2 separate regions of the Homo sapiens genome follow, and region 2 is linked to region 1. Evidence: promoter capture Hi-C in human tissues and cell types (Jung and others, 2019). All regions are on one chromosome and are shown on one strand. Each heading gives the region's core, a stretch centred on a gene start or on the middle of the fragment in contact. The rest is flanking DNA. Distances are from core to core; before and after follow the strand shown.

Region 1 (5,027 bases), core at 1,458-3,957:
GCTGAGATCATGCCACTGCACTCCAGCCTGGTGAAAGGGCAAGACTCCATCTCAAAAAAAAAAAAAAAAAAAAGAAGAAAAATAGAAAGCATCCCATCTGCATGATGTGTACCATGTCTGCGATGCTTTCATATACTGTAACTCATATGATCTTATTGCAGTCTTTCAGAGTAGTTAAGCTATTGCATCTGTTTTAAAGCTGAGGAACTGTAGACCTGGAGGTGTATCTTGCCTCTGCTAGTTGGCATGACATCAGAAAAGAGAGTGAAAAATAGTCACTGCATTACAATGCGGCAAGCAGGGCAGGCAAATCAAACCAGTAACTTAAGCTTGACTTACCTTGATCAGGCTTTTTATCTGCTGGTAGAATTGAAGTTGGTTGTCGAGATCGGCAAATATTGTTGTAAAAGGATTGATGGGTCAGATTATAAAAATAGATGGAAAGTTTGTAAGATAAATGCAAGCAGAGTATGAGAACAGGAGAGAAACAACCCACCATATCATCTGGGAAAATGAAACTCCTTGGCAAGACTTCACAACAGCCTGATTCAAAATTTCATAATGAAATTATGTCTCTGATCAAAGCCTGAATGAGCTCATAGGCTGATTTTTGCCATCCGTGTTTATTCTGGTTTGCACCAACTTGAGGCATCAGAAACACATTAACTGAATCTTCTCTCTGGGAGGAGGCTATGGTATCCTTGTTTTGGGGATCAGAGGGACAGTGTGGGGTGGAAGGGGGCATCTTCACTGATCATGAAGTTTTTTCCAAATAGCTCTCAGAGCTTCCCTAACACAGGTCACAGTCAGGGCCTTCCCAGCAGAGCTGCATTTAATCTCATGATACTTGCCCTTGGGGCAATAAAAGCGAAGCTTGAGGGACAGAAGGTATTTCCAGCTCTAGCCTATGACATGGCCTGCTTTTGCTCTAAAGAGAATGTTTTGGGGTTTGTTTCAAACTCAGAGAAATAAAGACTCAATCATCCCCTGCTCAATTAGAATACCTCACTTTATAACAAATTGTTTGTTTTTATGAAATGAGCTACACTGCATGAATCCACCCTTCCTCTTGCCTAACCATCTCTTCTTTGGCCTATCCAGAGGGTACAAAGATGGCCATTTTCTGACAATTTGAGGTACCAAAAAAGAGAGAGGGACCAGGCGAGGTGGCTCACACTTGTAATCCCAGCACTTTGGGAGGCTGAGGCAGGTGGATCACCTGAGGTCAGGAGTTTGAGACCAGCCTGGCCAATGTGGTGAAAGCCCGTCTCTACTAAAAATACAAAAATTAGCTGGGCATGATACCATGCGCCTGTAATCTCAGCTACTTGGGAGGCTGAGGCAGGAGAATTGCTTGAACCCGGGAGGTGGAGGTTGCAGTGAACCGAGACCGGGCCACTGCACTCCAGCCTGGGCAACAAGAGCGAGACTCCGTCTCAAAAAACAAAAACAAAAACAAACAAACAAAAAATAAATTGTAAAAAGAGAGAGGGCTTCTTGGTTCAAACACTGGCATCTAGACACTTTATTCTGGCTAGTAGAAACAGAAATCACTGGGTCTTAATGCCTTCCTTCATCCTCAAGGCAAGAGACATTCCCATCTACTCATTCTTTCACTTAATGAATATTTTTTGAGTCCTTTGTTTCAGATGCTATTCAAGTCTTAAAGACACAGCAGTGAACAAATTAACAAGGTCCCTGCTTTTAAGAATCTTACATTCTAGTTTGGGGGAAGCAGCCAATAAACTTGTAAAAAAAATTCAACTAGTGATAAATGCCATGAAATAAATAAAACAGAATACTGTAACAGAATAACTGTGAAAGGGTGAAAGGTGGCTGATTTAGACAAATTAGACAGGAATGAGTTCTCACAGCAGGAAGGGTCACCAGATAAAATACAGAACGTACAGTTACATTTGAATTTCAGGCAAACGATGAATACTTTTTTAGTCTAAGTATTTTCCAGGCACTGTTGGAGGTGTACTAAAGAAAAGTATTCATTTTTTTTCTCTGAAATTCTAATTTAATTTGGTGTCCTGTATTTCTATTTGCTAATTCTTGCAGGCCTACCAATAGGTGATATTTGAGCTTAGGATTGAATGACAGCTATGCAAAGATTCTGGGAAAGAGTGATTCAGGCAGAGAGAATATCCAGTGTAAATGTCAGAATAACCAGAGGGAGGGACGTACACATGAGATTAGATAAATAGGCAGGCAGGGGCCAGATCACAGAATCCTGTAGGGATGGCAAAAAGTTTGAATCAATCTCTGTCTCTGTCTGTTTCTCCCTTCTCCCTTCCCCTACCTCTCATTCTAAGAGTGATGATAAGCCACTGGAGTTGTAAGGAAGAGAATGACACCTCCTAACGGATATTTGGCTGCTGTGTGGTCGGCAACTTTTGGAAGGACTTAGAAGACAAATTCAGAAGACAAACTTAAGCTTGTGCCACTGGCCTGGGAAGAAGCTTCTTTATTCGGAGGTGGACCCAACTGGGAGCTCTGGCCGCGCGTTCAGGTTAACTAGGCGGTTGCTATGAACGGGCAGCTTGGCGGTTGCTAGGGCTGGAGCGGGCTGGGGCTCCACGCAGGGCGACGCCTAGGCGGCTGGAGCGGGGGCGGAGCCAGGAGGGTGACGGCGCGCGCCGCGCGTTCACAGGAAGTCGCTCTGAGGCCGAGAGGGACGCGAGCGGAAGTGACGTACGTCGTGCACACGTGGTCCGGCGTGGTTCAGGCGGGTGTCTTCGGCCGGGCTTGGGAACATAAAAGTTTGTTTCACCACGTAAGCCGGACCTCGCACTCCGGTCCCGGTCTCGTCGCCAAGATGGTGAAGCCCAAGTACAAAGGACGGAGCACCATCAACCCGTCCAAGGCCAGCACAAACCCAGGTACAGGCGGCAGGGCTGATCGAGGGTGGAGCTTGGAGGAAGTATAGGGAAGGGCTCCGAGGAGCACTGGAGGGGAAGGAGGGTTACTCGAGTGGCATTGCTTAGAATGACTACGAGCGGGGTGGCTGTTGGGGATGAAAAGGGAAAAAGGAAAGCAATATTTGTGGTGGTTTCTTCTCAGGGGGGAACTGAGGAGGGCTCAGTGCACGCCTGGCAGGCCAAAGTGTAGTCAACTGGTCTGAAGTCAAGGAAAGTGAACACTCAGGCTGACAGCCTTGGGTCCTCTCCAGTTGAGAGATGCAGAGAAAGTCAGATTAAAAATGGTGTAGGTTGACCCTTCGGGCCTTTTACACGTGATCATACTTGCCTGCCACCTTAGCTTTGACCTTTAAAATGAGAAAGGGCTTATAGTTTTGGCCCTTGGAATTATTCTATCTGGTAAAGTGCTTAGAGAACCCTACAAAGAAGTCAGTATGATCATTGCAGTAAGGCTGTTTAGGAGATGTGTGTAAGTTTTGGCGAGGTTCCACCTGTACGATTAACAAGACATCCTATGGGAGAGTTCCTTCCATTCAGGTTTAATTAATAAAACTTTGTTTTAAAATATGGTTTAGAATTTTTGACAATTTTAATGCAAGTTGAATGTTTATTCCGGATTGATAATAAATTATTCACTTTGCACAAACTGGAATCTCAGAATGTTAGACCCCAAAAGGCCCTTAGAGATTATGATTTTACAGGTGAAGAGACTGAATCAAAATACAGGAAGTGGCCTGTCATAATTGCAACAGTTAGTGAGTAGTAGTAGAGCCGCCAGTTTCTACTGTTAGAGACTGTTAGGAGAGCCAATGGGCTGTGGTTTCAGCCTGTCTTCTACTGTATCACTTCAGGACCAGACAGGTGATTTAAGGGGCTCCTGGCCAGGTGTGGTGGCTCACGCCTGTAATCCCAGCACTTTGGGAGGCCGAGGCGGTCGGATCACCCGAGGTCAGGAGTTCAAGACCAGCCTGACCAACATGATGAAACCCCCTCTCTACAAAAATACAAAGATTAGCCGGGCATGATGGCGGATGCCCGTAATCCCAGCTACTCGGGAGGCTGAGGTGGAAGAATTGCATGAACCGGGGAGGTGGAGGTTGTAGTGAGCTGAGATCGCGACACTGCACTCCAGCCTGGGTGACAGAGCACGACTCTGTCTCAAAAAAAAGATAATAATAATGAATAAATGAATAAATAGGTAAATAAAGGGCTCCCAAAATGAGAAGCTAGGCTAGTATTACCCTATTCGTTTGTCCTTCTCTTTCTCTTTGAGATGTAAGGCAAGAATTGCTGTGTTGATTAAACAAAAATCAAACATTAAGAAAGTAAGAACACATATATCAAAATTATAGTCTCCATGGTGCCTTGCATGGAGCAGGCACTCAATATTTGTTAAACTGAGACACAGAGGTAGGTATCTTCGTGGTTAAGACCATAGATGGTGATCAAATGCTCATGTACAAATTCTGGCTCTGCCATTTAGTAACGGTTTGACCTTGGGCAAGGTGTCTGACCACTGTGCCTCAGTTTCTCACTCCGCAGCATGGGGATAATATATCTATAGGATTATTGTATAGATTAAATCAGATGATGCCTATAATTTGGATAACACAGTGCCATCATAAGTGCTCAAAAATATTAGCTATTCTTCTCAAATACAATCCTATCGAAGATCAAAGATTGGGTCAGCTTTGTCATACCATGTAGCTTCAAGTACTAATTATTGGAGCAACATATGGAGAAAGTAGAGATTTTTGTGGTTGGTGGCTTCTTACCTAATTTGGGTGAACTACTTGTTGCATTTTAAGCAATGACTTGTTGGTTATACTGGTTGGTTATCAAATAGTGCACTGTGTACTTCTGCCTTTTGTAGATCGAGTGCAGGGAGCAGGAGGCCAAAACATGAGGGACCGGGCCACCATCCGGCGCCTGAATATGTATAGGCAAAAGGAGCGCAGGTGAGCACTGGGTGCTGTCATCCTTTCTCTTTTCCTTCATGCCCTTGACTGCTAGCTGAGACTGATGAAGCCTTTGCTGTTCTCACCCCCACTTCCTCCAAATAGGAGTTATATATTCTCAAATATAATTGTACGTGAGTGTCGT
Region 2 (4,600 bases), core at 212-2,711, 240 kb before region 1:
CCCTGGGCAGCATTTTTGTCCTGTTGATGAGGTATCTTTTCTCTGCCAGGTAAAGCGGTACCAATGTACCTTTGAGGGCTGTCCCCGCACCTACAGCACAGCAGGCAACCTGCGAACCCACCAGAAGACTCACCGAGGAGAGTACACCTTTGTCTGTAATCAGGAGGGCTGTGGCAAAGCCTTCCTTACCTCTTACAGCCTCAGGATCCACGTGCGAGTGCACACGAAGGAGAAGCCATTTGAGTGTGACGTGCAGGGCTGTGAGAAGGCATTCAACACACTGTACAGGTCAGTCTCGTCTCCAATGCTCTGCCAGCCTCTGACCTTGACCTTGTTGTGATGGCAGAGCTCTTTCCCCTTGCAGAGGAGTTGTTTTCACTTTCAGGGCTTTAAAAGAGCGCAGCTGTGTTCAACTACGTAAAATTCATTTCTGCCAGATCTCAGAAAATGAAAGAAAAAAATTTAAAAATGCATTAGAGAAACCTGTTACTTAAAGATGGACGTATCTTGGGCTGGTTAGAAGCGACAGTACATTTCTGTTTAGATTTGCATCTCATGGAGCAGCATTCTGGCCTGGGCATTTCAGTGCTTGGCATAGAGTACTATCTCCCCTTGGCTCAGGATCTTTGTGCTAAGGCTTCTGTCCTACCTAAGCTTGAAGGACTTTTCTATCCTGAGAAATGGGGAGTGGCCTATTCAGTAGCCAATTCTCTTTTTCACGTTTGTATCAGGAGACTTAATAGTCTTCAGTATTGAGTATAAAGTAATAGAAATAACAGTAGCTAACACTTAAAAATACTCACTGTGTGCTAGGCATGATTCCAAGTGCTAGTCCCCACAATAGCTGATAAGTAAATGGAAGCACAGAGGGGTTCTATAACTAGCTTAAGTTTCCCCATCCAAGCAGGATGTGGGGTCAGGATTTGAATCCCAGGAAGTCTGTCTCCAGAGTCACACTCATACCACTGTGCTATTCTCTGCGTTTCTTTTGGGGCAAAATATGTTGGATACTAATATGTTATGGGTATAGAATTCTTACGCACTTGATCCTGAAGCACATTAAGCTGGCATGGGGAGGCTCTGTAGAACTTTATGACAAAGGGAGGCCAGGCGCAGTGGCTCATGCCTGTTATCCCAGCACTTTGGGAGGCCGAGGCAGGCGGATCACCTGAGGTCAGGAGTTCGAGACCAGCCTGGCCAACCTGGTGAAACCCCGTTGTACTAAAAATACAAAAATTAGCCAGGCGTGGTTGTGGGCTCCCATAATCCCATCTACTTGGGAGGCTGAGGCAGGAGAATCGCTTGAACCTAGCAGGAGGAGGTTGCAGTGAGCCGAGACTGCGCCATTGCACTCCAGCCTGGGCGACAAGAGCGAAACTCTGTCTCAGAAAAAAAAAAAAAAAAAAAAAAGAATTTTATGACAAAGGGAATTTTTCTGGAATATTTTGCAGGCTGAAAGCACATCAGAGGCTTCACACAGGGAAAACGTTTAACTGTGAATCTGAAGGCTGCAGCAAATACTTCACCACACTCAGTGATCTGAGGAAGCACATTCGAACTCATACAGGGGAAAAGCCATTTCGGTAGGTCTTACTGTTTTCTATTTGTCACTGACCAGGTTTCAGCTGGGGGTCTTGATATACTCTGGAATTTTTCAAAAAAGAAAGAAAACTCCCTTTACTAGCTCTTGATTTAGCAGTGTTAGCTCACCCCAGGACAGCTATAACCAACCACTGCAGATTAGAGGGGTGCTGATGGAGTCCAAGAACATCCTTACTCTGTGGATGATGGCCTTTCTGCCTCATTTTTTCCCATTTATTTCCAAGAAGCATTTGTTGAAACTCAGTTATGTGGTGGGTACTTTTATTAGTGCTAGAGAAATACTCCGAAGCAGGCCTTCTTCTTAAGAACCTTTGTCTGGTGACAAAAAACCACAAATTTGTGGATAATATCTGAGGCTGCAAGATGGCCAAAGTGCCTTAAGCCCAGAGGAGGGATACCTACCTAAGAATCAAGGAGGGAGGGAATGAGGAGACAAGAGAGGAAATGAGAGGTAGGGATGCTTAGCTTAGTGGTGCAGTTGTTACTTGTTCAAATTATTGCTTTGTAATATCTCGTGTGTATACACAAACATATAGGAGCATCCATTTTTATTCATATATGTCAACATATGTATATCTAATAGATACATTTACTATAAACTTGAAGGAGGGACTTGGGTTATCTACTTTCTTCTCTGCTCATAGTATATAGCATGATTCCAGGCATTCAACAGGTATTCAAAATCAGCTTTGGGATGATTATATGACATTTTTAATGAGATAATCAGTTTGTAAGGATTTCCCCTAAATGTAATATAGATAGATGTATTGCCAAAAACTGCCCATAAACAATGTCTTTGAGGCCGGGCATGGCGGCTCATGCCTGTAATTCCAGCAATTTGGGAGGCTGAGGCAGGTGGATCATGTGAGGTTAGGAGTTTAAGACCAGCCTGGCCAACATGGTGAGACCACATCTCTACTAAAACTACAAAAATCAGCCAGGCGTGGTGTCACATGCCTATAGTCCCAGCTACTCTGGAGGCTGAGGCAGGAGAATTGCTGGAACCAGAGAGGCGGAGGTTGTGGTGAGCCAAGATTGTGCCATTGCACTCCAGCCTAGATGACAGAGTGAGACTCTGTCTCAAAAAAAATAAAAATAAAAAAAAAATAAACAATGTATTTGAATTTTGGCAGGGGATATTCAAGGCATTAGATATGCTACCTGTTCCTTCTTAAACCACTCGTTTTGTTAGGGTACTTAGAAATAAAAAGTCGTTAGAGACAGTCAACTCTTAGATGCCAATCAAATGGAATTGTGGGCTGGGCTTATGTCTGTAATCCCAGTGCTTTGGGAGACTGAGGTGGGAGGATCACTTGAGCCCAGGAGTTCAAGACCAGCTTGGGCAAGTGAGACCCTGACTCTACAGAAAATTTTAAAATTAGTTGGGAGTGGTGGCGCATGCGTGTGGTCCCAGCTATTTAGGAGGCTGAGGTGGGAAGATTGCTTGAGCCTGGGAGGTCAAGGCTGTAGTGAGCCATGGTCATGCCACTACACTCCAGCCTGGGCAACAGAGAGAGACCATGTCTCAGAAAAAAAAGGAATTGTGTTTTTAAGTTACAGATGCATTCCTGAGTCATGATCCCTTTAAGGGCAAGAGTAGTTAGATTGTAATTGGTTACTCTACAGATGGATGCTGTGAAGCTTAGGTTATTCCCCGCCGCCCCCCTTCCCGTAGGCTGCTGAGAGGACTCTGATTTCTATCCAGTCACATGCATTTATTTTTGTGATGATTAAAACTGCATTTTTCTTGAATATTCAATGAGACTTTAGACATGATGATGATTGCATGTAATTAAAAATGAAAATGCTTTAGAGAAGCTTTCTATTTAAAGAAATAAAATATTTTGGTTTATAAGAAAATGCATTCATTCATATAAGTAATTAAGGAATGTCTGCTATGTGCAGGAACTACAGAAAGAGCTACGTGGATCCTGTACTCAAGTAGTTTACACTCTAGGAGAGCAGATACCAGATGTATCCACAGAGAAAATAAGATTGGAAATGAGAGTTGCCATAAAAGAAATGTAAAGAAAAGCCTTAGGAGTTCTGAGGAGGGAAAGATTCCTTTTAGCTTTGGTTATCAAGACAGTAAAAGAGAATGAAGTAGATCTCGACACACAAGATTATAGATAAGTTACTTGAGCCTATCTTCTGATTGATTTTGTTCTTATGTTACATTGCAAGCCATGTACATATTTGAGAGCCACTTTGCTTACTCTTGATATTCCTAATGTTCCACTGGCAGATTTTTCATATGGACTGTCACTGTCAACAGAGGTCTGTTAAGTAATTCATCAAAAGACTTTTGTTGTCAGGGCTCTCAACATGGACCTTACCTGTAGGACAAGAAATACTTATCCTGGGCTCTCAGTTCTCTCTGATCCCAGATATGCCACCTTACTTTTTCAAGAACCTCTCATCATTCCCATCTCTAAAACCAGTGTCATTGATCTGATCTTAGTGTTCTGAATATTTGTTTTAGTTTCTATTTATAAGAGATGTTCAGAGGCCAGGCACAGTGGTTCACGTCTGTAATCCCAGCACTTGGGAGGCCGAGGCGGGCGGATCACAAGGTCAGGAGATCGAGACCATCCTGGCTAACATGGTGAAACCTTGTCTCTACTAAAAATACAAAAAATTAGCTGGGCGTGGTGGTGGGCACCTGTAGTCCCAGCTACTCGGGAGGCTGAGGCAGGAGAATGGCATGAACCCGGGAGGTGGAGCTTGCAGTGAGCCAAGATTGCGCCACTGCACTCCAGCCTTGGGGACAGAGCGAGACTCGATCTCAAAAAAAAAAAAGACGTTCAGGATAAAGATCTATTAGCTAATGACTCCTGTTTCTCTTTCCTTAACAAATTTAGGTGCGATCACGATGGCTGTGGAAAAGCATTTGCAGCAAGCCACCACCTTAAAACTCACGTTCGTACACATACTGGTGAGTTTAGGCCAATTTTTGTTTCATCAAGCCTGTAACTATCAATTTTCCATTGAGACCTGT

What was found. Contacts are between HindIII fragments. The study calls those that stand out against the background at their distance.
Region 2: a fragment that was not itself captured here is called in contact with the fragment with the promoter of GNL2 in region 1 in 1 of the 25 tissues and cell types used here (bladder).

The regions. Positions count from the first base shown.
Region 1 is chr1:37,593,617-37,598,643 of GRCh38, reverse strand. It overlaps GNL2 (G protein nucleolar 2), which reads left to right and starts at 2,707. Exons shown (of 16, transcript NM_013285.3): 1 at 2,707-2,885; 2 at 4,798-4,882. The coding sequence starts at 2,822. RefSeq lists enhancers at 2,789-2,978, 3,149-3,208. The HindIII fragment of the contact is 8,299 bases long and covers 1,658-5,027 here.
Region 2 is chr1:37,835,608-37,840,207 of GRCh38, reverse strand. It overlaps MTF1 (metal regulatory transcription factor 1), which reads left to right. Exons shown (of 11, transcript NM_005955.3): 3 at 50-288; 4 at 1,452-1,583; 5 at 4,464-4,537. Among named protein-coding and RNA genes, the nearest start is that of MTF1, 22 kb to the left of the region's middle. The HindIII fragment of the contact is 6,695 bases long and covers 1-4,600 here.